Linked DNA regions of Homo sapiens: regions 1, 2 and 3 are each linked to region 4. Evidence: promoter capture Hi-C in human tissues and cell types (Jung and others, 2019). All regions are on one chromosome and are shown on one strand. The core of a region is centred on a gene start or on the middle of the fragment in contact, and the rest is flanking DNA. Distances in the headings are between cores, read along the strand shown. Region 1 overlaps CAP2 (cyclase associated actin cytoskeleton regulatory protein 2). Region 2 has its middle 36 kb from the start of FAM8A1. Region 3 has its middle 40 kb from the start of NUP153-AS1. Region 4 holds the start of RBM24 (RNA binding motif protein 24).

Region 1 (6,312 bases), core at 78-2,577, 260 kb after region 4:
ATTGGCAGCAGGTTTCGACTCTCTCGGGCAAAATCCCAGCAAGGGCGCAGTCTCAATGCAATGCAATGCCCTGTCTTCTGTCTTCTCAGGGTCCTGTAGCATCCACAGTATCAGCGTTTTCTGTCCTCTCCTCTGGGCCTGGCCTTCCTCCACCCCCTCCTCCTCTGCCTCCTCCAGGGCCACCTCCACTTTTCGAGAATGAAGGCAAAAAAGAGGAATCTTCTCCTTCACGCTCAGCTTTATTTGCCCAACTTAACCAGGGAGAAGCAATTACAAAAGGTGAGAGAGAAAAGAAGACCTTGAAGCTGCCTCCCTTTCCCTCTGGCTCCCAGACACAAAAGAGCCGCTGGAGCCCCAGTGATGGATACATCACTCCATCCCTGCCTCCAGCATGCAGGGAGAGGGGGAACTGGTGCTGGGAAGACAGGAGCCTGCCATGTTCCTTATGTCCATGCAGACGGGCTCAGGGGGTCACTGTGTAGACCAGAAAGAAGTATTCAGAGACTCTGGGTTCTAAATGGACCACTGTGCTGCATCCTTGCTTTAGACCCCAGTACTTCCACATCATTGTCCACAACCAAGGCATCAAGATCAAGTGAAATAAAAATAAAAATGGCAGGCTGGGCATGGTGGCTCACACCTGTAATCACAGCACTTTGGGAGGCCAAGGCAGGCCTATTGCTTGAGCCCAGGAGTTCAAGACCAGCCTGGGCAACATAGTGAGACCCCATCTTTACCAAAAATAAACAGAAATTAGCTGGGCATTGTGGCACACACCTGCAGTTCTAGCTACTAAGGAATCTGAGGTGGGAGGATCGCTTGAGCCCAGGAGGTGGGGGCTGCGGTGAGCTGAGATCGCACCACTGCACTCCAGCCTGGGTGACAGAGTGAGACCTTGTCTCTAAATAAATAAAAGTGGCAAACATTAGCTCCTCTGTCCTGAAGCAGTGTACAGGCTTGTCAAAGAATTATATCCCACTATACTGGGCTTGGAGCTAAGAATCCAAAATTCTAAATTTTTCTCTGGCTCCAACTGGTTCTGCTGTGCCTTGTGAAACTCATTTGCAAAGTAAAGGAATGGATTCGTAAAGTCAATTCCATATCCTGATATATACTCACTGGAATGCCCTAACCTTTTAGGCTGTGTCTGGAGAATGATTTAGCCGTAAGAGAAGAAGTAAGACATGATCCTTTTTCGTGAGGTGGTTTGCTCTTTGCAGAATTTTTATCTATCATTTTATCTCCCAACAGAAGAGGTTCCTCAAATTAAAAAAAAAAAAAAAAATACTTGGCTGGTGCAGTGGCTCACGCCTGTAATCCCAGCACTTTGGGAGGCCAAGGAGGGTGGATCACCTGAGGTCAGGAGTTCAAAGACCAGCGTGGCCAACATGGTGAAACCCCATCTCTACTAAAAATACAAAAATTAGCTAAGCGTGTGGTGGTGCATGCCTGTAATCCCAGCTACTTGGGAGGCTGAGGCAGGAGAATCGCTTGAACCCAGGAGGCAGAGGTTGCAGTGAGCCGAGATCACGCCACTGCACTCCAGCCTAGGTGACAGAGCGAGACTCCATTTAAAAAACAACAACAACAACAACAACTTACAGTGCTTCTGTCAACTCTCAACTTGTACAGGACTCAGCTCCTGCATCCTGACTTGGAGAAAGCACTAGACTGTTTTGAAAGTGGCCTTACCAAAAGTTCTTGTGCTCTTTATTTACATCATGTTGATCTAGCAAGTTAGAGACATTTCCCTTTGCATAAAATAAATGTGTCCATGTGTGTTGTCCTCCTAGGGCTCCGCCATGTCACAGATGACCAGAAGACATACAAAAATCCCAGCCTGCGGGCTCAAGGAGGGCAAACTCAATCTCCCACCAAAAGTCACACTCCAAGTCCCACATCTCCTAAATCTTATCCTTCTCAAAAACATGCCCCAGTGTTGGAGTTGGAAGGAAAGAAATGGAGAGTGGTAAGTGAAGCATTTTAACCTTTATTTTCCTGACATGCGCCAATGAAAGGACCAACAGCCAAACCATTTACCAAGATCTGAAGGATTTCTTTTTTTTAATTTTTGTATTGGTACATAACATTTGTATATATTTATGGGGTACCTGTGATATTTTGTTACATGCGTAGAATGTGTAATGATCGGCACTTTGGGGGTTTGAGGTGGGAGGATCACCTGAGGTCAGGAGTTCGAGACCAGCCTGGCCAACATGGTGAAACCCTATCTCTACTAAAAATACAAAAATTAGCCGGGCATGGTGGCACGTGCCTGTAATCCCAGCTACTTGAGAGGCTGAGACAGGAGAATCACTTGAACCCGAGAGGTGGAGGTTGCAGCGAGCCGAGATCACGCCACTGCACTCCAGCCTGGGTGACAGAGTGAGACTCTGTCTCAAAAAAAAAGAATGGGTAATGATCAAGTCAGGATATTTAGGGTGTCCATTACCTTGAGTATTTATCATTTCTATGTGATGGAAGCATTTCAAGGCCTCTTTTCTAGCTATTTTGAAATATTTAAGACAGTGTTGTTAACTATATTTACCCTACTCTGCTGTCGAATTAGAATTTATTCCTTCTGACTATATGTTCGTACCCATTAACCACCAAGGTGAAGTGACAGAGGCAAAAACCACTGGCTAGAGTAGAAACCAGGGTGTTTCTGAATGCTTCCATAAACTTTATTTTCACAGGTTCTCATGCATTCTTTTCTTCAACTTTTTAAATTATTTTGTGAGTGGTGGTAAAATAGACGTAGCATAAAATGGACTGTTCACCATGTTTAACTGTCCAGCTCAGTGGCATTAAGTCTGTTCATATGGTTGTGCTGCCATCACCACCACCCACTACAGAACTCTTTTCATCTTGCAGAACCAAAAATCTGTACCCTTAACCAATAGCTCCCTGTTTCTCCCCCTGCACCCCTCCCAGCCCCTGGCAATTACCATTCTACTTTCTGTCTCTATGAATTTAGCTATTCTTTCTATAAGCTTTTAATCAGGCAGCAAGACAGACCGTTAATATATGGAACTGGGAAGTCTGTGCCCCACTCTGATGTGCTGTGAGATGTTTCGTTCAGTCCCATGGATGGAGGGATTGATACCTCTGTACCCTACTGCTGCCACCCCCCACTGCCCGGGCTAAGTGTGTGAGCAGGACATAGACACTTCAAATGGTAATGAAAGCTGGTGTCTCCTGCTGATCTGGAGGGCTTCCCTAAAGATGAAGGACCAAAGTCCCTGGAGAGTTGTCATCGCCTTGAAAACACAAGGGCTTAGACCACTGCTGTGACCCTTCACCAGCCTGTTTGCCCAACTCCTGTTTGACACAGCAGGTTTTGCTGCATCATCAAGTCCAGACTTGGCATCAAGGCCTCAACAAAAAGCTCTCACATCCCTGCTCCAGCCTCCCACCTGCTAGGGTGCCTGATACCTGATGTTTACAAAGAGATACTGACTTGCTTCCAAGAAGTGGTTCCGTTTTTCCCATCCTAACAATGACAGAGTAAGACCTGTGGTTTCATCTATAAGGAGATGGTTCCAAAAGAATATATTGCAAAGCCATACTTCATGCTGAGCTCGTACTAATTTCAGTGTGCAGTGGTTTCTGTTTATATATGCTGATGTTTAATATTTGTATTTGTCTTAATTCTAGGAGTACCAAGAGGACAGGAATGACCTTGTGATTTCAGAGACTGAGCTGAAACAAGTGGCTTACATTTTCAAATGCGAAAAATCAACTATTCAGATAAAAGGGAAAGTAAACTCCATTATAATTGGTAGGGCAGAATTATGGCTCTATGGTTATTATGATGTTTTATAAACAAGCTGTATGTATTTAGTGGAGTTGGTTTTTTGTTGTGTTTTTTCTCCCCACAGACAACTGTAAAAAACTCGGCCTGGTGTTTGACAATGTGGTGGGCATTGTGGAAGTGATCAACTCCCAGGACATTCAAATCCAGGTAAGCAGAGCCTTTCCAACCATGCTGTAATAAGCAGAGCCTTTCCAACCACGCTGTAATAAGCAGAGCCTTTCCAACCACGCTGTAGTAAGCAGCCTTTCCAACCACGCTGTAATAAGCAGCCTTTCCAACCACACTGTAAGCTGCGGCCTTGCACAGACCATCCACTCTGCCTCCAAGAAGCAGCCTTGCAGCCAGTCGCGGTGGCTCACGCCCGTAACCCTAGCACTTTGGGAGGCCGAGGTGGGCGGATCACGAGGTCAGGAGATTGAGACCATCCTGGCTAACACAGTGAAACCCTGTCTCTACTAAAAATACGAAAACAAAATTAGCTGGGCATGGTGGCAGGCGCCTGTAGTCCCAGCTACTCTGGAGGCTGAGGCGGGAGAATGGCGTGAACCCAGGAGGTGGAGCTTGCAGTGAGCGAGCCAAGATCGCGCCACTGCACTCCAGCCTGGGCGACAGAGCAAGACTCCATCTCAAAAAAAAAAAAAAAAAAAAAAGAAGGAGCCTTGCTCCCCCATGGCCACCTAAAATACTCCTATTCTTGTTCCCTCTGGACACAGCTCTATCATCACCTCCTTGGTAGACCCCTCTCTTACTTCTCAGTGTTAGTTCTTTCTTTTCAATCTCTTCTAACAGATCCCATTTTGTGTTTCCATTACTGGCATACCATCTCAATTTCAAGTACAGCTAACTGGCCAGGCATGGTGGCTCACGCCTGTAATCCCAACACTTTGGGAGGCCAAGGCGGGTGGATCACCTGAGGTCAGGAGTTTGAGACCAGCCTAGCTAACATGGTGAAACCCTGTCTATATTGAAAACACAAAAATTAGCCGGGTGGGGTGGTGGGTGCCTGTAATCCCAGCTACTTGGGAGGCTGAGACAGGAGAATCACTTGAACCTGGGAGGCAGAGGTTGCAGTGAACTGAGATTGTGCCACTGCACTCCAGCCTGGGCAACAGAGAGAGACTCTGTCTCAAAAAAAAAAAAAGAAAAGAAAAAAAGGACAGCTATGTAATCTTTATAGCCCCAGAAACTTGCACAGTACCTGCACATAGTAGGCGTCCAGTAAATGTTTGATGGGTATATGATTTGAGTGAATCAACTAATGCATAAATAAAAGTACTGTGAGACTCTCCTAGTATGATTAGCCCCATTCCAAAGAGAACTTTTTTCTCAGGAAAAATTGGTCCTAGATCATGAAGAGGAAAAGTTTTTCTAAAGAATCAGTGAGATCATCAGAAAAACAACTTGAGAAGTAGGGTTGGAGTTGAATTTGCAAAACAGAAGAAAATCTGTGAATTAAAATATATAATAATTTTGATTTAGCCACATGGAATTTTATGATATGCCAAAATCTAAAGGACTTCTTGGTTTTGGCCAATTATAACTTCTATCTTTTTTTTTTTTTGAGACAGAGTCTCGCTCTGTGGCCCAGGCTGGAGTGCAGTGGCCCAGGCCAGGCGCAATCTCGGCACACTACAACCTGCACCTCCCAGGTTCAAGTGATTCTCATATGCCTCAGCCCCCTGAGTAGCTGGGATTACAGGTGACCACCACCATGGCCCAGCTAATTTTTTGAATATTTAATAGAGACAGGGTTTCGCCATATTGGGCAGGCTGGTCTCAAACTCCTGACCTCAAGTGGTCCACCTGCCTCGGCCTCCCAAAGTGCTGGGATTACAGTCATGAGCCACAGCACCCAGCCCCAGTTTAGTATTTCTGATCACTACATTTATCCATTTAATAACACTGCTTTCTCTCCAAACTATTACGCATGCAAATTTTAAGGAGGTTGCTCATCTTCAGAAAAAGCCCGGTACTTCAAGGATGATCATGGTTCATAGAAACCTAATGAGACCACACTTTCTGAAGAGCTATTTTGGATGGTGGGAGTTCCTATGTAAAGAAACATGCTTTTTCCCACTTTACATTATTTTTAATTTTAAAAAACTAGAAGTAACAGCAGTGAAGTAATATTTGATGGCAGAGGTGAGGGTACATGTTTAGCCATAGTCATGCAATCATAGTGTGTCACAGTTGAAAAGTATCTTGGAAAGAATGCAACCTAACACACATACCACAAACACACCTTAATTTTAGAGAGTTTATTTCAAGCTCCCTTTCATTCGTACAGAAATTAAGCTTAGGTAGCAATGGTGAAACCATATATAAGCAGTTAGCATTTTTTTTAATGTAAATACATCACATCTGAAATACACAACCAAGTAAATTAAGTATAAAATGTGAAAATGGGAAGTTCTAAATATTCATCATGTTTTTGGAGGGAGAAAAAAATCTTAAACCAAGAAGAAACAGAGGAAATTTTCAAACAGATAGGCAGA
Region 2 (6,711 bases), core at 4,007-6,506, 280 kb after region 4:
CTCACACCTGTAATCCCAGCACTTTGGGAGGCCGAGGCAGGTGGATCACCTGAGGTCAGGAGTTCGAGACCAGCCTGGTCAACGTGGTGAAACCCCATCTCTACTAACAATACAAAAATTAGCCGGGCATGCTGGTAGGTGCCTGTAATCCCAGCTACTCAGGAGGCTGAGGCAGGAGAATTGCTTGAACCTGGGAGGCGGAGGTTGCCGTGAGCTGAGATCATGCCATTGCACTCCAGCCTGGGCGACAAGAGAAAAACTCCGTCTCAAAAAAAAAAAGCAAAAAAACCCAAAAAAACATGAAAGAGAATCAGATCTTAGAGAAACCATGGTTCAGTCTTGAACACGTTTGATGCACGTTGTCTCTGTGACATTTAATTGGAGATGGAGAGTAAGCAGTTGGATATGTGAACCCCAAAATACTGAGACAGGTCTCAGTTAATTTAGAAAGTTTATTTTGCCAAGGTTGATGACACGCACCCATGACACAGCCTCAGGAGGTCCTGACAACATGTGCCCAAGGCAGTCAGACCAGTTTGGTGTTATACATTTTAGGGAGACATGAGACGTCAGTCAACATATGTAAGATGAACATTGGTTTGGTCTGGAAAAGCAAAGAGGGGGCTTCCACGTCATAGGTAGATGCATATCTACCTATGCATTTGTAGAGACAAATGGTTACATTCTTCTGAGTTTTTGATTAGCATCTCCAAAGGAGGCAATCAGATATGCATTTATCTCAGTGAGCAGAGGGGTGACTTTGAATAGAGTGGGAGGCAATTTTGCCCTAAGCAGTTCCCAGCTTTGACTTTTCCCTTTAGCTTAGTGATTTGGGGGGCCCAAGATATTTTCCTGTCACATTTCCCCCATTTTCTTTTTTAAAATCTTTTGGATAAAGCATTTTAGAAGAAAATGAGTCTCTAGTCTCTGGTTTCATCTGATTTATCATGGCTAGGATGGTTTATTCCTAGATAGGCAGTTCTTGAGTTATTAAGAAAGCTCGTTTTTGAAGATTATGAAGTCTCATGTCCTATGAAGATAAAATAGGGGGAGGAAGGAAGAAAACAACAACCAGAGCAATCCTGGAAAATCGATATAGGCCACATTACTCTGAAGTCCATACCGCAGTAAGCAGGTATGAAAGTGGCTTATGTATGTAAATAGGTTACAGTTATTTTCTTCCGAGATTTAAGTTGTCTAGCTTTAGTTTGCAGGGCTTTACGAAAGCACAGCTTAGTTTTCAGTGACTTCAAATTAGAAAAATTGGGGGAAAAAAAAGAAAAAAATTGAAAACATTATTTTGAAGACTTGTAGCCAAGAAAAATTAGAATTCTGTCCAAATTGTAGAAAATAATAAAAATTGAAAAACATTAGGCAAGACTAGAATCTAACAAAAGTATATTATAGTTTTTAAAACATAATTTTTCTCTCTCCTGTTTCTCATTTTTACTAAAGACAAACCATGGTAGGACTGGTTTGCTTTATTATACTTGGCCTAATTATTTGTATACAGCACAGCAAGAATGATTATTTTTTACATAGACTTTTAAATTGGCCTTGATGGAATGTTGTTCCATAGAAGGAATCCCAGATAAGACTTTTTTAAAGCCAAGCCCAGCCATGGATTTGTATCATCAAATACTTATGAGTTGGGTGAATTCCTCTCCACCTGAGGTTCCAGTATAAACTTGGGGCTCCTGGGCCTGTCAGAAAGTGGCATTCTTTACTTAGCACAGGTCAGGAACCCTGTACAGGGACTGTGTAGACAAAGAAATGAGGCCTGTTTTTCAAGGGGCTTTTATTGGCTCCATAAGTCAAGTTTGATTTCTTAAAGGAAAGCACACCATTCCAGACAAAGCCTTGGTAAAATAACCAGTTTCTCCAATTGTGTCCTATTACAAATGAAAACAGATTCTTACTGCACTTACGCAAATAACTGTATTGTCATAAGTTAAGAATACTCACAAATAGTTGCCAAATTCTGTAGAAATCAGGTAGAGAGAAACAAATATGCTCCAAATTTTGTTCATGGAAGTATACTTTACTCAATTGTTAAAAGCTGTAAATAGCTTAAAGGAAAGTTTTCTCGACTCTGAAAAACAAACAAAAAAAGGTTCAGCAATGTTTTAAGTAAAAAGTTAAAAAGATTACTGCAGACTTCTATTAGTTTATCTATGCAGTCAATTCTGTTCTGCTTGATATTTATGAACATTTCAGCTTTCCATGAGTCCTGAAAGTTGTTCTTCTCTCCTGATGTTACAATCTTCAAAGTTATCAGAAACCTGCATTCAAGAACACCTGTTCGAGTCTTATAGCTGATTATAAAACCACCTTCTAGAGAGGACCAAAACAAAACAATTTTCTGTGGATGACAAAAAGTGTTAAGGCAGCCATAGTCAAAGTCACAATTTACAAGGAAATTTGTTACCTCTGTGGCACACAATAATTTAACTTAACAATTACTGATAACATACATTAAGTCATGTCAGAATTTTAGGAGTTTCCCATTATTTTGGAACACATACCAATAACATAGTTATACAAATACAGCCCAAAGAAAACCAAACACCATTTTATATTTGGCAATGCTTCCTGTATAATTTTTGTACCAAATAAACCAAATATGTCATTTTTTAGACTTTAGGGAACCTATTAAGAATATCTTAAAGGATTAATTAGGTCAGTAAAAGACATAATTTATAATTTGATTTTGGAAGTTTGTCAAATACCAAAGGTTTAAAACATTTTATATAGGTTGGGCACGGTAGCTCATGCCTGTAATCCCAGCATTTTGGGAGGCCAAGGAGGGCAGATCACAAGGTCAGGAGATTGAGACCATCCTGGCTAACATGGTAAAACTCTGTCTCTACTAAAAATACAAAAAATTAGCCAGGTGTGGTGACATGCGCCTGTAGTCCCAGGTACTCGGGAGGCTGAGGCAGGAGAATCGCTTGAACCCAGGAGGTGGAGGTTGCAGTGAGCCGAGATCATGCCACTGCACTCCAGCCTGGGCAACAGAGCAAGATTCCGTCTCAAAAAAAAAAAAATTTGATATTACAAAATAGGATCACAGGTCATTGTAAAATAAGTCATTCATTTAATCAAAGTGATAACTCAAGGACTTCAAAACAAGGCAAAAACTTTCATTCTTTGACAGAGGAGACTTAATTTTTCAAACAATAAGCCCTCATAAATACAGCATGAAGCCAATTAAATTTGTTGTCCAAAATTTTATAAACAATCTATAAAAGTTTCATCTGATCTGATCATAACATATAACTTCCATAAACCTTTATACCCTTTATAATCCTTATTAAGGAGTAAGTTAATGCCAAGAAAACTTTGTTAATCTGACACAGGGGCCCATATGCTGGTCTTACATCAGTGTGCCTTTCACATTAATTATTAATCTATAGAGAAACTGAACTTATTTTATGTCTCAAAATTGGCCCTTACAATCTCTTATGACCACCTCTTCTGCAATATGCCCTGGGCCTTGAAGAGTTGAATAGCTTTAATTTCTGGCCCTGTGTCTCAAGAATGCAGTTTATTTTGATTGGCATCTTCTACTGGGCCTAAAGACAAGGCTTTAATTGCCATCAGTGTTTAAGATTTAGCAGGATTTGCTGTTCTTTTTAGACCCAGGAGTCAAAGCCCTGTGACTCAATGTCACAAAGACTTTAAAAGCACATACAGGAGACACAAGGAGGTAACAACCTTAATTACCTTAATTTAAAAAAAAAGTGTTTAAATCTCTGTTTTTCCTAAGCAAACCAAACTTAATAATAGTGGCATAAGAATTATTTCAATAAAACATAAAATCTGTTAGGCCAGTTACCAAAAGACAAAAGAAAAGACCTTCTACAGTGCACAGAATATAATGCTGGAAGAAAACGTTTCCTTTAGATCTTTAAGAAAACATTGTTACCATCAGGCCAAAACAAACAGAACAGAACTCAAGGGGGAAAAAAAAAGACTCATATGAGCCGAAAATGAGTTGAAGGAGAGTGTTACTATTTCGTGGCTTTTAAAAGTGAAGAGAACACCCAAACTGGTGACATGCAATAAAAGTTGAACTTTGGGTTAAAATTTTAAAAATTAAAATCTCTTATAATTTATTGCATAAGGTCAGGCACAGTGACTCACACCTGTAATCCCAGCACTTTGGGAGGCCAAGGCGGGTGGATCATGAGGTCAGGAGATTGAGACCATCCTGGCTAACACAGTGAAACCCTGTCTACTAAAAATACAAAAAATTACCTGGTTATGGTGGCGGGTGCCTGTAGTCCCAGCTACTCAGGAGGCTGAGGCAGGAGAATGGCAACCCAGGAGGCGGAGCTTGCAGTGAGCCGAGATCACACCACTGCACTCCAGCCTGGGTGACGGAGCGAGACTCTGTCTCAAAAAAAAAAAAAAAGATAATAATAATAATAATTTATTGCATAAATCAACCCCTTAAGAAAACTTCATTGTTCTAACCAATTATACATGTAGAAGTGTTTTTTTTAACATCAAACCCAATCCCTAGAAAGACCATTATAGTTTCCCCTTAATCATAGACAACTTGATCATATGAAAGTTTTTGGTGTTTTTGTTTTCTTTTTTTCTTTTTATTTTGAGACAGAGTCTTGCTCTTGTCTCCCAGGCTAGAGTGTAATGGCACAATCTCAGCTCACTGCAACCTCTGCTTCCTGGGTTCAAGTGATTCTCCTGCCTCAGCCTCCCAAGTAGCTGAGATTAAGGCACGTGTTACCACGCCTGGCTAATTTGTATATTTTTAGTAGAGATGGTTGCCATGTTGGCCAGGCTGGTCTCAAACTCCTGACCTCAGGTGTTTGACCTCCGCCCACCTTGGCTTCCTAGAGTGCTGGGATTACAGGCATGAGCCACTGTGCTGGGCCTGGTGTTTTTTTTAAATACATCTTCTTACTGTGACTTTCACAGAACATTCATGACATGCTTGGGCTTTCTGGTTTGTCCTGAACATGTCTCTTTCTTAAACAACCAGTCATTTTACTCTAGGGCTAAATTTACCACACAAAATTCTTTCTCATATGAAATTATTACTCTTTAAACTTTCTTACCAAAAAAAAAAAAAATCTTTATATTTATAACTTTTGTTACATCTCTTTTATTTCCTGGTTCTTTTTACCTTGTTTTATACATGACCTTTAAATAAGCTTTGAATTAGACAAAAATTGTTCACCTTTTTAAAAAGAAACACTTTTGTTAAGAAAGAATGTTTTCTGGCCAGGCGCAGTGGCTCACACCTGTAATCCCAGTACTTTGGGAGGACGAGGCAGGTGGATCACTAGGTCAAGAGATTAAGACCATCCCTGCCAACATGGTGAAAGCCGGTCTCTACTAAAATTATAAAAATTAGCTGGGTGTGGTGGTGCATGCCTGTAGTCCCAGCTACTCAGGAGGCTGAAGCAGGAGAATCACTTGAACCCAGGCAGTGGAGGTTGCAGTGTGCTAAGATCATGCCAGTGCACTCCAGCCTGATGACAGAGCAAGACTCCTTCTCAAAAAAAAAATGTTTTCTTACAAATATATTTTTATTGAAAAATAACCAAATAATGAAATATCTCTTATTTAATTTAATATAACTTTAAATTCTAAAGTATGATGAGTTTTTCTGCAAGTATTTATCCTATTACATTTACCTAATTATTTTATTTTAATCATTTACCTAGATTATGTATAAAAACTGTAATTTCATTATTTAAAGTTATAGAACCACCATAACTTTGCAAAATTATAACTGCGACAGTGAAAAAGATTTGTCCTAACTGACTCCATCTTGCTTCTAACCTCCAAGCTGTCCTTGTTCATTCCTGGGTGTAGGCTGAACTAACTTTGGGAGGAACTTAGTTTATAGTTTAGCTTTGGAACAAAGATGATGACAGTCCTTTCTCAAAACCAACCTTAATGCCTGTGGACTAGACTGCCTAAAGCCACAAGATTAGAAGTTATGGTAGTCTGACTAAATTCAAGATGTTGCTATTTTTATTAAACCTGTGTCAATATCTTATTTATTAAATATTACACAAGCAAAGATCATTCTGTCTTGGGCTGGATTTACAGTTTTGTAACCCCTGTGCCAAATTTTGACACCTTACAGTATTTGGCAGGGATAAGTATGAAATTGCTTGATTAACAAATGCAAACAAAAATGTATGCTGGCAATTCTTAAGACATTTCTAAAATTACCTATAATTTTCAAGCTAGCTTATTTATTAAAGATTTTATTTAAGTTATGTAAACTTGAAAAAGCATTTGACTAGTCTTTTTTTGTGTGATAAACTATTTGATTCAAGTGCTTTTATTTTCTTAAGCCAATTAACTAGAGCTCTTTTATATATTTTCAGTTGTGAAACATTGTGTACACAACACATAAATACATAGATGTATTAGGCATGCCAATAGAAGTACATCTTACAGATTTATGAAAACCTTTTTTTTTTCCTATCTTAGACTTTCAGATTCTTGATAACCTGTTTCACAACTCTAGGCAGTTGTCAGCTAAATAGCCTTAAATTTTCATATTAAAGGAAACAACTCAGGTGCAAATCAAATGGCAAAATTTACCTCATAAGGTACAGAGAGAAAAAGTCTGGTGATGCTAGAGGGAGATTAAAAATCTAATCATTTATTTGATCAAATCAAACATAAAGTTGCAGAAATCTATCATAGGATTGTATAAGGAGA
Region 3 (7,045 bases), core at 4,000-6,499, 470 kb after region 4:
ACTTTGGGAGGCCGAGGCAGGAGGATCACCTGAGCCCAGGAGTTTGAGATGAGCCTGGGTAACATAGTGAGAAACTTTCTCTACAAAAATACAAAAATTAGCTTGGTGTGGTGGTATGCACCTGTAGTCCCAGCTACCTGGGAGGCTGAGGTGGGAGGATTGCTTGAGCCTAGGAGGTCGAGGATGCAGTAAGCCTTGTGCCAGCCTGGGTGACAGAGTGAAACGCTGTCTCAAAAAAAAAAAAAAAGGGGGAGACTTACCTTAACAACTTTTAAAATACGCTGTAAAGCTACTATAATTATAATTATGGTACATGTAAAGGATATAAACAAATCATTGAGGCAAAACAGAGTGAGAAAACCTAATATTTTCTTTCCAAATCCCAGTGAATGATCTTATGATCTTATACATCCCCTGGATTAGGCAACTTTCCTTGGGGTCACTGATCTATGGCACAGAGAGAAAAAATTGCCTATCAAGTGATTACAACTGTTTGGGAACGATGCCTAATTTGAGAGTGCACATATTCATTTCTATCTTGATTTTATGCTTTCATTAATTGACTGATGAGAAGACATTGTATCGTTGCATTTTTGGGATCTTCCTTCTATTAACTAATTCACTCTTTAATTAAAATGAGCAAACTGGTAGCATAAACTAAGTTAAACCCACACCAGCTATCTTTAAACTTGAAAACATTAAAATTTGACATACATCTTAAGAATTTTTCATATGCAAAAACCCTGTACTTAATTTGGGGCAAAGAAAGGTTAGTGAAGTATGGAAAAGGAACTGAGTTTAATTGGTTAAGCTAAACATGAAAACAACTGCAACGGAAAATAAAAAAACTTTTGAGAGGAAATCCAAATACTGAAGAAAAATGAAGAGGGAAAGCTATTTTGAGTAGTTGGCTTTTTAGCTAGGCCTTGAAGGATGAAGAGGATCTTGGCTTAGGACGGAGAGGATTCAAACTGCTGGAAAAGCGTGAGTTTTTGTGATCTATATAAGCATAGTTTGGATTTTTTTTTTTTTTTTTGAAGAGATATGGTCTTGTTCTGTCACCCCAGCTGGAGCTGGAGTGCAGTGCTGTGATCATAGCTCACTGTAGCCTTGACCTCCTAGGCTCAAGTGATCCTTTCCAGCTCAGTCTTGCAAAGTGTTAGTGTGTCTGGAATTGGTGGGTTCATTGGTCTCACTGCCTTCAAGAATGAAGCTGAGAACACCCTGCAGTGATTGTTACAGCTCTCTAAAGTGGCATGTCTGGAGTTTGTTCCTTCTGATGTTTGGATGTGTTTGGAGTTCCTTCCTTCTGGTGGGTTCGTGGTCTCGCTGGCTCAGGAGTGAAACTGCAGACCTTCACGGTGAGTGTTACAGCTCTTAAGGTAGCATGTCTGAAGTTATTCGTTCATTCTCGGTGGGCTTGTGGTCTTTCTGTCTTCAGCAGTGAGGCTGCAGACCTTCATGGTGACTGTTACAGCTCATAAAAAGCAGTATGGATCCAAAGGGTGAGCAACAGCAACATTTATCGCAGAGAGCAAAAGAACAAAGCTTCCACAGTGTGGAAAAAGACCCAAGCGGCTCGCCACTGCTGGCTCGGGCAGCCTGCTTTTATTCTCTTATCTGGCCCCACTCACATCCTGCTGATTGGTAGAGCCGAGTGGTCTGTTTTGACAGGGCGCTGATTGGTGCGTTTACAATCCCTGAGCTAGACACAAAGGTTCTCTAGGTCCCCACCAGATTAGCTAGATACAGAGTGTGGACACAAAGGTTCTCCAAGACCCCACCAGAGTAGCTAGATACAGAGTGTTGATTGGTGCACTCACAAACCCTGAGCTAGACACAGGGTGCTGATTGGTGTGTTTACAAACCTTGGGCTAGATACAGAGTGCCGATTGGTGTATTTACAATCCCTGAGCTAGACATGAAGGTTCTCCAAGGCCCCACCAGAGCAGCTAGATACAGAGTGTCGATTGGTGGATTCACAAACCTCGAGCTAGACACAGGGTGCTGATTGGTGTGTTTACAAACCTTGAGCTAGATACAAAGTGCCCATTGGTGTATTTACAATCCCTGAGCTAGACATAAAGGTTCTCCACGTCCCCACAAGACTCAGGATCCCAGCTGGCTTCACCCAGTGGATCCCGCACCGGAGCTGCAGGTGGAGCTGCTTGCCAGTCCCGCGCCCTGCGCTCGCACTCCTCAGCCTTTGGGTGGTCGAATGGACTGGGCGCCGTGGAGCAGGGGGTGGCACTCGTAGGGGAGGCTCGGCCCCATAGCAGCTCATGGAGCGGGTGGGAGGCTCAGGCATGGCGGGCTGCAGGTCCCGAGCTCTGCCCTGTGAGAAGGCAGTTAAGGCCCGGCGAGAAATCGAGCGCAGCGCCGGTGGGCTGGCACTGCTGGGGGATCCAGTACACCCTCCGTAGCCGCTGGTCCGGGTGCTAAGTCACTCATTCCCCCGGGCCGGCAGAGCTGGCCGGCTGCTCCGAGTGCGGGGCCCGCCAAGCCCGCGCCCACCCGGAACTCCAGCTGGTCCGCAAGCGCCGCACGCAGTCCCGGTTCCCGCTCGCGCCTCTCCCTCCACACCTCCCTGCAAGCTGAGGGAGCCGGCTCCACCCTCGGCCAGCCCAGAAAGGGGCTCCCACAGTGCAGCGGTGGGCTAAAGGGCTCAAGTGCCGCCAAAGTGGGAGTCCAGGCAGAGGAGGCGCCGAGAGCGAGTGAGGGCTGTGAGGACTGCCAGCACGCTGTCACCTCTCATTAGGATTACAGGCATGAGCCCATTAAAGATATTAAAGGCTGGGTGTGGTAATTCACGTCTGTAATCCCAGCACTTTGGGAGGTAGAAGTGGGTGGATCACTTGAGCCTAGGAGTTCAAGACCAGCCTGGGCAACATGATGAAACTCTGTCTCTACAAAAAATACAAAAATTAGCTGGGCATGGTGGCATGGGCCTATGGTCTCAGCTACTTGGTAGGCTGAGGTGGCAGGATTACTTAAGCCCAGAAGGTCAAGATTGCAGTGAGCCACGATCATGCCACTGTACTCCAGCCTGGGCAAGAGAGTGGGACCCTGTCTAAAAAAAAAATAATAATAAAAAAGATCTTAAAGTAGTACAGTGAGTCTGGAGAGAGGGTATGATCAGTAAGCAGGCCCAAAAAGGTAGCTTGGAGTCAAATCAAGCTGGACTTAAGATGGTTTTAATGGAACTAGAGCTTGCCTTTTTTTTTTTTTTGAGGCAGAGTCTCGCTCTGTCACCCAGGCTGGAGTGCAGTGGCACAATGTCAGCTCACTGCAACCTCCGCCTCTCGGGTTCAAACGATTCTCCTGCCTCAGCCTCCTGAGTGGCTTGCATTATAGGCATCTGCCACCATGCCCAGCTAATTTTTTTGTAGTTTTAGTAGAAATGAGATTTCACCATGTTGGCCAGGTTGGTCTTGAACTCCTGATCTCAAGTGATCTGCCTGCCTTGGCCTCCCAAAGTGCTGGGATTAAAAGTGTGAGCCACCCCGCCCTGCCTAGAGCTTGCCTTTGAAGTCAGATAGACTCATGGCCTGGTGCTGCCACTCACCTACTGTCTGACTTTGAGCAATTTTCTCAAACTTCTTTTCTTCATTTATAAAATGGATATGAAAATGTTTATCTTACAAATTGTTCCAATTTGTAAGATGAGATAATGCATGTAAAAGACATTCTACATAGTAGACATATATGCAGAATGGGAAAAGTGAGAGGTTAGAGGCAGGGAGATTAGGTTTCGAAACTGATAATAAAGTTGGCTATTGATGAAAATGAATCATAACATATAATTAAGCTGTGCCAGGACTGGGCAAGTTGGCTCAGGCCTGTAATCCCAGCACTTTAGGAGGCCAAGGCAGGTGGATCATGAGGTCAGGAGTTCGAGACCAGCCTGGCCAATATGATGAAATCCTGTCTCTACTAAAAATACAAAAATTAGTCGGGTGTGGCGGTGCGCGCCTGTAGTCCCAGCTACTCGGGAGGCTGAGGGAGGAGAATCGTTTGAACACAGGAGGTGGGGGTTACAGTGAGCCAAGATCATGCCACTGCACTCCAGCCTGGGTGACAGAGCGAGACTTTGCCTCAAAAAAAAAAAAAAAAGCTGTGTCTGGTTTGTTTTTCCTGCATAGTAAGGAAGAAGGAGGAAGAAGTCAAAGAACAGGTGAATTGAAACAATATAGGGGTAGAAAGTATCTCTGAGAGAAAAGCTACTTACCTTTACTGAGCACTTGTCCAAAACATCAATTATCTTGCCATTCAAAGATGTTCTTTCTCCTGCATTCCTAATATCAGCTAATGCCATTAGTCCCAACACCCTAAGCTAGTATTCATCCCCCATATTTCAGCAGTCACTATAAAACATATCTCTAATATGTCACTTCCATTCTGCCTTCATCAAGCCAATTCAAACCCATATCTTCTAGGTTACTGTGAAAGCTTTTTTTTTTAAATTTTTATTTCTAAAATTATGTATGTTTGAGACAGGGTCTTGCTCTCTCACTCAGGCTGGAGTGCAGTAGCACAATCTCACTACAGCTCACTGCAGCCTGAGCCTCCTGGGCTCAAGTGATCCTCCCACCTCAGCGAGACTTCGTCTCAAAAAACAAACAAACACAAAAAAACCCCACATGGTTTTAACTCATTTAACACACACACACACACACACACACACACACACACGACTAAACTTCACAGTTAATTTCTTAGGTTTTTTTTTTTTTTTTTGAGACGGAGTCTAGCTCTGTCGCCTAGGCTGGGGTGCAGTGGTGTGACCTTGGCTCACTGCAACCTCTGCCTCCAGGGTTAAAGCAATTCTCTGCCTCAGCCTCCTGAGTAGCTGGGATTCCAGGCACCCACCACCACGCCTGGCTAATTTTTGTATTTCTGGTAGAGATGGGGTTTTACCATCTTGGCCAGTCTGGTCTTGAACTCCTGACCTTGTGATCCACCTGCTTCGGCCTCCCAAAGTGCTAGGATTACAGGCATGAGCCACTGCGCCCGGCCAATTTCTTAGTTTTTACCTAATTCCCTTTTTCTGTTCCAGGATCCCATGTAGGCTGTCACACTACATTTAATTGTCCTGTCTTCTTAGGCTCCTCCTGGCTGTGATGGTATCTCAGACTTTACTTGATTTTGATGTCTGACATGTTTGAGGAGTTTCCTAAGGTGTATTGTAAGCCTGATGTTTTTCTCATAATTAGACTGGGGTTATGGGTTTGGGGAGGAAAATCACATTGGTGAAGTGCCATTTGTATCACATGGTGTCAATGGTACATACTGTCTACATGACTTATCACTGTTGATGTTGACTTTGATCACCTGAAGTCGTGTTTGTCAAGTTTCTCTACTACAAAGTTACATTTTCCCTTTTCCATACTTTTTAGAAGGAAGTCACTGTGCGGCACACCTCATGCTTTATGAGTGAGGAGTGATGCTCCCTTTCATATTATATTTTTACTTTTTTTTTTTTTTTTTTGAGACGGAGTCTTGCTCTGTTGCCCAGGCTGGAGTGCGGTGGCGCAATCTCGGCTCACTGCAAGCTCCGCCTCCCGGGTTCACGCCATTCTCCTGCGTCAGCCTCCTGAGTAGCTGGGACTACAGGCGCCCGCCACCACGCCTGGCTAATTTGTTTTGTATTTTTAGTAGAGACGGGGTTTCACTGTGTTAGTCAGGATGGTCTTGATCTCCTGACCTTGTGATCCGCCCACAGTGCTGGGATTACAGGCGTGAGCCGCCACGCCCGGCTATTTTTTTTTCTTTAGACGGAGCCTTGCTCTTGTTCAGGCTGGAGTGCAATGGTGCAATCTCAGCTCACTGCAACCTCCGCCTCCTGGGTTCAAGCCATTCTCCTGCGTCAGCCTCCCGAGTAGCTGGGATTACAGGCACGTACCACCATGCCTGGCTAATTTTTGTATTTTTAGTAGAGACGGTTTCACCATGTTGGCCAGGCTGGTCTCAAACTCCTGACCTCAGGTGATTCGCCCGCCTTGGTCTCCCAAAGTGCTGGGATTACAGGCATGAGCCACCGCACCCGGCCTTTACTACATTTTAGAATAAGCTTATTTTCTCAAGTTTGTGTGTGTTTTAAAGAATGATCTCACCTGGCTGGGCGCAGTGGCTCACGCCTGTAATCCCAGCGCTTTGGGAGGCCGAGGCGGGTGGATCACTTGAGCCCAGGAGTTGAAGACTAACCTGGCCCAAATGGTGAAACCCTGTGTCTACTAAAAATACAAAAAATTAGCCTGGCATGGTGACACACGTCTGTAATCCCAGCTACTTGGGAGGCTGCGGCATGAGAATCGCTTGAACACAAGAGGTGGAGGTTGTAGTGAGCCAAGATCGTGCCACTGCACTCCAGCCTGGGCAACAGAGTGAAGCTGTGTCTCAAAAAAAAAGAATGATCTTTCCTGTCTATATACTGAATCTGTGTCAGGGATGCCCCAATCTTTAGTCAAGAGCTACATTTTATCACCTTAAAGGCTGGAGATCACCAGATAAGGGGGAAACAAACAGCAAAGTATCAGAGCTGCCCAGAAAGGAGGAATGCCACTCCTGCAGTTTTTCCTTTTCTGCTGAAAATTCAAAACTAAGTCAAGTATAACTGTGGCAGCCACTGTACAGTTCTATGCAGTTCTTCTGAACAAGATTTTGAGACTGACTTTTTTTTTTTTTTTTGAGACAGAGTCTCGCTCTGTCACCCAGGCTGGAGTGCAGTGGCGTGATCCTGGCTCACTGCAATCTCCGCCTCCTGGGTTCAAGCGATTCTTCTGCTTCTGCCTCCCGAGAAGCTGGGACTACAGGCGCCCATCACCACGCCTGGCTAATTTTTGTATTTTTGTATTTTTTTTTTTTTGAGACGGAGTCTCGCTCTGTCGCCCAGGCTGGAGGGCAGTGGCGCAATCTCAGCTCACTACAAGCTCTGCCTCCCGGGTTCACGCCATTCTCCTGCTTCAGCCTCCCAAGTACCTGGGACTACAGGTGCCCACAACCACGCCCAGCTAATTTTTTGTATTTTTACTGGAGACGGGATTTC
Region 4 (6,626 bases), core at 1,750-4,249:
AAGCACACATTATATTGCACAAGGCCTGTGAATATACAAGTATTCTCTGCCAAAAGCAGCTGACAAAGCAAAAGGATTATCCAAGCATTGTTTTTCAAACCTGAATTTGTAATGAGTAATTGTACAGAAATATTCGGTACTTAACCTTGAAACCTTGAATTCAGAAAAACTTTATGGCCCCAAGGCTACATGATTTGATGGCTCAGATTCGTAAATCCACCAAGAATGAGGATCTGGCCATTTTAACTGTGTCCACCTTGGTGCAAATGTAAAACAAAACCCACAGGGGCAGCAATGATGCCTACCACAGTGCTTGCCTGGGCGAAGGGAAGGGGGTCTTGATGAAAGTTTGTTGAGATGAACTGGGTATGAATTCTGGCTTCCGTTTAAATACGTTTGGAAAATAAGGAATCTCCATCCCTCTTAACCTTTGTTCTCAGTGACTCACGTAATACCAGTGTATTAGTAATGTTTTAATTATCCCTGGAATTCAAAATTAGGGACCGTCCAGGCAAAGTTTCAGGCAAAGTGATCAAGTATTTACTGTTCCCTTGAAAGAATAAAAACACTGCAGTCAGGGGTTGCACGGGATGGGAGGGACAATGACAAGGAGGCGTCTTATTTCCAGAAGCTGAGTTCTAGGACACAAGTATTCCAACCCGGGATCAGAATTTCCTTGTAGATCTCACCACTTTACCTAGTGAACATCCTAGCTGCTGGCTACACTCCCAGACACCCTCCTTCCCTGATATTATCACAGTCCTCTCCAGGGTGGGCTCCCAATCCAGGTAGGAAGAAAGGCGAGACAGCCAAAGGCGCCCTTCTAAGGCTTCTCTCTAAGCAGCTTCCCTTCACAAAAGGGTTTTGCCTGAGCCTCATCTACGTACAGTAATTCTTAAATGACACAAGATGGATGTTGAATATTAAAAAACACGCCTCTTCTCTTTCCCCGCCTGCTTTGTTTTTCTAACTTTTAAAAATTATCTTTCATCATACCAGCACAGAGAGTCGTTTTTGAACCTGTCCTTTAACTTAAGTAATGAAGAGAGGGTGTTTACAATTTCACTTTCTGGCTCTCATCTGTCTGTAAAATTCTTTATTATTTTTTTAATCGGGTGAAAAAAATGTTTTTAACTTTAATAGATTTCTGATTTCTCTATATCTCCCACTGGGGGTTCAAACTTAAAGAAACCAGTGACGTCAAAAAGTCAACCTCATGAGGAAGTCAGCAAGATGAAAAACGGAATTTAATGTTTTGCACAAGAATATTTGCATTCCCATTAGCCTTTGCAAATGCAACATTTCTCACCCTCTTGGGTTGACTGCAAAGGTGTCCTGGAGAGAAACAGAGTATGCACCTCTCTAACGGTTAACATACTGAATTGTTTTAATGGAATAAATGGTGCGGCTCAGGGGCGATTAATGTAGGGACTGTAGACTCCCGTAGAAAGGACTTAAAAGGCAATTGTGCACCAACAATGGTGGATGAAACCTTCTGCTCACATCAAATATTTTCATCCAAACCTCAAGTATGACTGATTGATTTTAAGGCCTAATTGAATGAATTCTCAATTAAAAGAAGTTGCAAAAAGCTGATGTAAAGTAATAAATATATATGGGGTGCCCTATGTTCTACAAATGCTTTCAGGTCTGCTGGTAGAAACCACTGGTTATGCAATAAGTTGATTTCAAAAATTATACCTTTTACATTTACATCCAGATAAAAACAGATGAGGTCAAGCCACTAAACATTCTTGTAATTCAAAGAGAAAGAAATAGATTAATTCTTTGTTTAGGGAAAAAAAAAAAAAAAGAACGACTTATGCTAAGACATCTGTACCAATCTTCCTGAATAACTAAGTTAGGGAGGAAAGACAAATTTGGTGACTGTGGGGGCTAAAATACTAACTTATGGTCCTCTGAAATAGAAGGCGGTGCCTGATGGACATAGGTATCTCCGGTTACTTGGTTTGGCTGGGCGGTAGCAATTAAAGCTAATGGTTTTCCCAACTACACCCAAGCGCTAGATCTTTCTTTTCCTTCTGGCTCTACCTCTCTGATACTTCCCCGCACTGGCTTTTTGGGGCCAAAGAAAGTTGGGGCCCTCCTTCTCACTCTTCAGACCCCAGGGTGTCCAGCTTGGGTTTCGTTCGGCCGAGCTCCTTGACCCCCCGCGCCCGGGAGGGGATTGGCCTCTCAGCGAATCGCCCCAGGCCTCTGGGGACCCCAGTTCGCCAGTCCAGGTCGCCGGCCCTGTCACCGAGGCCTAACCCAAAAAGCTCGCGTCGTCCCCTCTGGAAAGCAACGCAGCTTCCTCCTTGGGCACAGTCCCCGCACCCTGGGTCCCGGCTGGTGCTGCGCCGGGTCCCTAAGACTTTGACTGGTTAGAGCAGGCGACGCCGAGAGCCAGGCCGCCTACAGGCGTCTCCAGCCCTACCCCATCGCCGGCTACAGAGCGGGAGCCCCGAGCCCCAGCGCCGCGCCGCGCGGGGAGAGAAGCAGCTGTTCCCAACAGCTGGGGGGCGGCGGCGCCCGGCGCCCCAGGTGCTGCCGCGGCCAATCGCAGGCGTCCGGCCCGCCCCCCTCCCCAGCCGGGCGTCGACCCCCGGCCCGCGGGGGAAGGGAGCAGAGAGGTGGAGAGCTGTCCTCGGCACTCGTCTTCCAGATCCCACGGCGGGAGGGACAGACCAGAGCCGAAGCTGCGCGGAGTTCCTCGCCCCTGGCCCCGCCGCCGCGCCCCCCGCCCGCTTCGGCGCTCGGACGCTCTTCCCGCGGACCCTCCCCACACCCCACCCAAGGCACCTGATTCCTAAGGAAGAAAAATCTACCTCTAAAGCACCCGCTTCTTCGCTTGAGAACTACCCTCTCTTTTCATTTTTGGCCTCCCCGCCGGGTGAGTGGAAACCGCTTGCACATTCTATAGAACCCGATTCTAATCCAGACGATCCGGAGAATTTGTACGGTGACCGGCAGGGGGGGCGGGAGGAGAGAGCGAAGTCAAGTCTCCAGGGCCGCTGGCGACTTCGGAAGCCGCGCGCCCGGCGCTCTCGGCCGCCCCCGGCCGCTCGCCCCCGCCGCGCCGCCGCCCTCGCCCCCGGGCTCGCCCTTGGCCCCCGGCGGCCGCGAAAGGGTGCGGGAGACGCGGAGCCGGAGGAGGAGGCGCAGCCGCTGCCCGAGCCGCAGCCGCAGCCGGAGCCCGAGCCGCGGGGCGGGTGCGAAGATGCACACGACCCAGAAGGACACGACGTACACCAAGATCTTCGTCGGGGGGCTGCCCTACCACACCACCGACGCCAGCCTGCGCAAGTACTTCGAGGTCTTCGGCGAGATCGAGGAGGCGGTGGTCATCACCGACCGGCAGACGGGCAAGTCCCGGGGCTATGGATTTGTAAGTTGCACGGACTGGGGGTGACGGGGAGGGACGGAGTGGCGGCTGACCCCGGGGATCGGGAGCTTGGAGTGAGGGGCTCGGCGTGACCCGTGAGGAGCCCCGCGGGTAGAGCGGCGCTGCCCCTTCGCTCCGGGGTGAACTGAAACTTTGCTAGGGGAGAGGGTCGGCGCCAGCCTCGCGGGGTTCGGAGAAGACCCAGCGCTGTGCGAGGTCGGGGGCCGGGCAGGGCAGAGCAGGGGTGAAAGGAGAGACCTGTAATGACGGCGGGATTTGGGGTGCGGAGGGTTGCGAGGGAGGGGCCGCAACCCTGAACAATTGCATTCCCGGGCTGGATGCCGGTTGTTAAGCGCGCTGTTGCTTTGTAAAAATGCGTGTGTTCTGGTGTTTTGGCTGGGGCAGGGAGGGGACACCCCACGAGGTCTGGGGCTGTTGCCCTTGTGTCATCCCCCCGCCTTTTAACTGCAAAGGTAGGTTCTTTTAAATCATGATCCTAGGGCTCTTTGCCGAACTGAAACAGAGCATATTAAGCTTCCTTCCTAGAGATTTAAGCGTGCAAATTCAGCTGCCGAAGAGCAGGGAGCCCCAGAGTAGGACAATAGCTATTGTCGTTGGGGAGTGTTTTCGAGGTTGGGAGCGTTGGGCGGATGTAAGGCTGGACTTTCTTTAAAGCAAACGGTGCCTCTGAGGCTGAGTAGGGACCTGGGGGGCGGGGGATTCGGGGGAAGGAGGATCTAGAGTTCCAAGAATTTAGGCTTCCAAATCTCGGCTAGGCCCTACTAACACCCTTAAGATTTCGGCGGTGGGGTGGGGGGAGGCAGGGTTAGAGGGTTTCTTTCTTTTTTCCTTCGTCTACCCGCCCCCCCCCCCCACGCCCCCGCCCGCCTGTTAAAAATGGGAGATCAAGGAGGAGGGTCCAGCCAAAAGAAGCAAAGAATAGAAAAAAAGTTTGATCTCAGTTTTATCATGAATGACTTCTCCATTGTGATTCTTGATTTCCTTCATGGGTTAATTTAGAGGTTATGTATGTATGTCTGTGTGTGTCTGTTGCTAAGGTCACCATGGCTGACCGGGCTGCTGCCGAAAGGGCCTGCAAGGATCCCAATCCCATCATTGATGGCAGAAAGGCCAACGTGAACCTGGCATACTTAGGAGCAAAACCAAGGATCATGCAACCAGGTGAGAAATGTCTGTCTCCCCTACCCCCCTCTCCAAGAACCCCCCATTTATGGGTGGGATGATTCTCTAATTTAGAAGACATTGTCTCTTTCTGTAGATGTGTTTAGTAAACTTGAACCATGGCTTGTTATTCTACCAAGGCATTAAACATAAATGAGAGTTGTAAATACTCCTCTCAAGGCTTGAAATGTACCTGTGTGCAAAAATGGATCTTGGGGGTCGTGCAGGAAGAAGAGTTAGTCATGTCTCACCTGTTTCCTATATGGCATACATTTGTAGTCTGCTCTCAATTTTCCAATTTTTAGCCACCTGTAGATAATTCACATGTGGATTATATAGGCCAAATTTGTCGACTTCAGCTAATATACTTCCCTACTTAGTGGTGTCTCTCCTTTTAGCACCAGTTGCACTGTGCTCAGAGCAGGCAGTCTGACTTGAACACAGACCCAAGGGAAGCATTAAGGGGTAGGGGCGATGTCCAAATGGTAAAGGTTTTGTTTTTTTTTGAGATGGAGTTTCGTTCTTGTTGCCCAGGCTGGAGTGCAATGACGCGATCTAGGCTCACTGCAACCTCCGCCTCCTGGGTTCAAGTGATTGTCCTGCCTCAGCCTCCCAAGTAGCTGGGATTACAGGAATGTGTCACCACACCCAGCTAATTTTGTATTTTTAGTAGAGACGGGGTTTCACTGTGTTGGTCAGGCTGGTCTTGAACTCCTGACCTCAGGTGATCCACCCGCCTTGGCCTCCTAAAGTGCTGGGATTACAGGCGTGAGCCACCGCGCCTGGCCCAAAATGGTAAACCTTCAACATAAAATCACAGAGTATTAGCAATCAAAGAAAACAGAAATTGCACCTACTCAAGAACCCTATGCTACAGACAAAGAAACTGATGCTTAGAGATGAGAAATATTTTACTTAAGTCATGTAGCTATTAGTTGCCAAAAGGGAGCAGTTTTTTGTCTATGGGAAAACAATACCTCTTGGATTATTTACAACACTGCCCTTTGCATTAGCACAAATAGTTGAGAGTTGATTTTTAAGCAAATATAATATTTTCTTTGGTCAGGCAACTTTACTTGTAAAGTTTGATTAAATCATATACTCTTCACTCCTAAGCCTTTCCATCTGAAATTTTGGGAAGAGGTTGACACTTCCATCCAAACGGGTTTAAAAGGAAACTAGGTTGTCAAGAAAATGAGTGTTTGTGCAAATATTCATGGGCGTTAAAAAAATTTGTCTAATACATTGTGGGTATGTAGTATCCAGAAAAAAAACATTTTTTTTTGTGAATTTTTAATACTGGAAAGTGTAAAACCCATAATCTTCCAAAGCATTGTCTGAAGCATCCCAGAACGTTCCAAATTACAAAGACTTTTCATAGATTCTGGTTCAAAACTGTGAGAATATTTGAGATGTAACTTCACTGTCAAATCCTGCTGTACTTAATTTTATTTCATGAACATTTTCCCAAGGTCTGATTCTGTGTCTGTCAACTAAAATTTGCAGATTTTTTTAAAGTTTTCACCTTTTCTCTGTTAAAACCTTTATTTTGAATCAATGATAGCATTTATAAAACTGACTTTAAAAAATATACATACATATAGTTTCTTTAAAGTGGCGAAAGAATGTTTATCTTTTATAAGTGAAAGTTGTGATTGCATTTTACATGTAGGAATAATAAATGCCTAACCATGCACAAATAAAGAATGTGGTATATTTTGTTGTTAGGTTTTGCCTTTGGTGTTCAACAACTTCATCCAGCCCTTATACAAAGACCTTTCGGGTAAGTTGATTAATCAGGCTTTCTTAAGTTTCAGTATGACTATCATTTGTTAACGTGCCTCTTTGTTATATACAGATAAGATCATGATGTCACAGAATGGTCCTAGTTATACAATTTTATATATATTTGTGCATTTTTAATGCTGATACTATAAATATTTTTAGATGAGTCAAGTTATCTGACCAAGTATGCAGCCTCCAAACGAGACAAATTTTGAGCTTATGATTAGCAAAACAAAACAAAAATACCAGGTATGACTTGTGTACAAGACGATTG

The links. The method cuts DNA at HindIII sites, captures the fragments that hold promoters and counts their contacts. A contact is called where the count stands out against the background at its distance.
Region 1: a contact is called between a fragment that was not itself captured here and the fragment with the promoter of RBM24 in region 4, in 4 of the 25 tissues and cell types used here (H1 embryonic stem cells, IMR-90 fibroblasts, mesendoderm cells and 1 more).
Region 2: a fragment that was not itself captured here is called in contact with the fragment with the promoter of RBM24 in region 4 in 3 of the 25 tissues and cell types used here (IMR-90 fibroblasts, bladder and thymus).
Region 3: a fragment that was not itself captured here is called in contact with the fragment with the promoter of RBM24 in region 4 in 2 of the 25 tissues and cell types used here (aorta and liver).

What each region holds. Positions count from the first base shown.
Region 1 is chr6:17,539,180-17,545,491 of GRCh38, forward strand. It overlaps CAP2 (cyclase associated actin cytoskeleton regulatory protein 2), which reads left to right. Exons shown (of 13, transcript NM_006366.3): 8 at 90-279; 9 at 1,794-1,969; 10 at 3,658-3,781; 11 at 3,882-3,964. Among named protein-coding and RNA genes, the nearest start is that of FAM8A1, 58 kb to the right of the region's middle. The HindIII fragment of the contact is 6,450 bases long and covers 1-4,552 here.
Region 2 is chr6:17,560,719-17,567,429 of GRCh38, forward strand. No RefSeq gene overlaps it. Among named protein-coding and RNA genes, the nearest start is that of FAM8A1, 36 kb to the right of the region's middle. The HindIII fragment of the contact is 7,354 bases long and covers 1,580-6,711 here.
Region 3 is chr6:17,743,114-17,750,158 of GRCh38, forward strand. No RefSeq gene overlaps it. Among named protein-coding and RNA genes, the nearest start is that of NUP153-AS1, 40 kb to the left of the region's middle. RefSeq lists a silencer at 891-1,091 and an enhancer at 2,439-2,939. The HindIII fragment of the contact is 4,502 bases long and covers 2,999-7,045 here.
Region 4 is chr6:17,278,362-17,284,987 of GRCh38, forward strand. RBM24 (RNA binding motif protein 24) reads left to right here and starts at 3,000. Exons shown (of 4, transcript NM_001143942.2): 1 at 3,000-3,388; 2 at 4,444-4,567; 3 at 6,296-6,350. The coding sequence starts at 3,221. The HindIII fragment of the contact is 10,579 bases long and covers 1-6,626 here.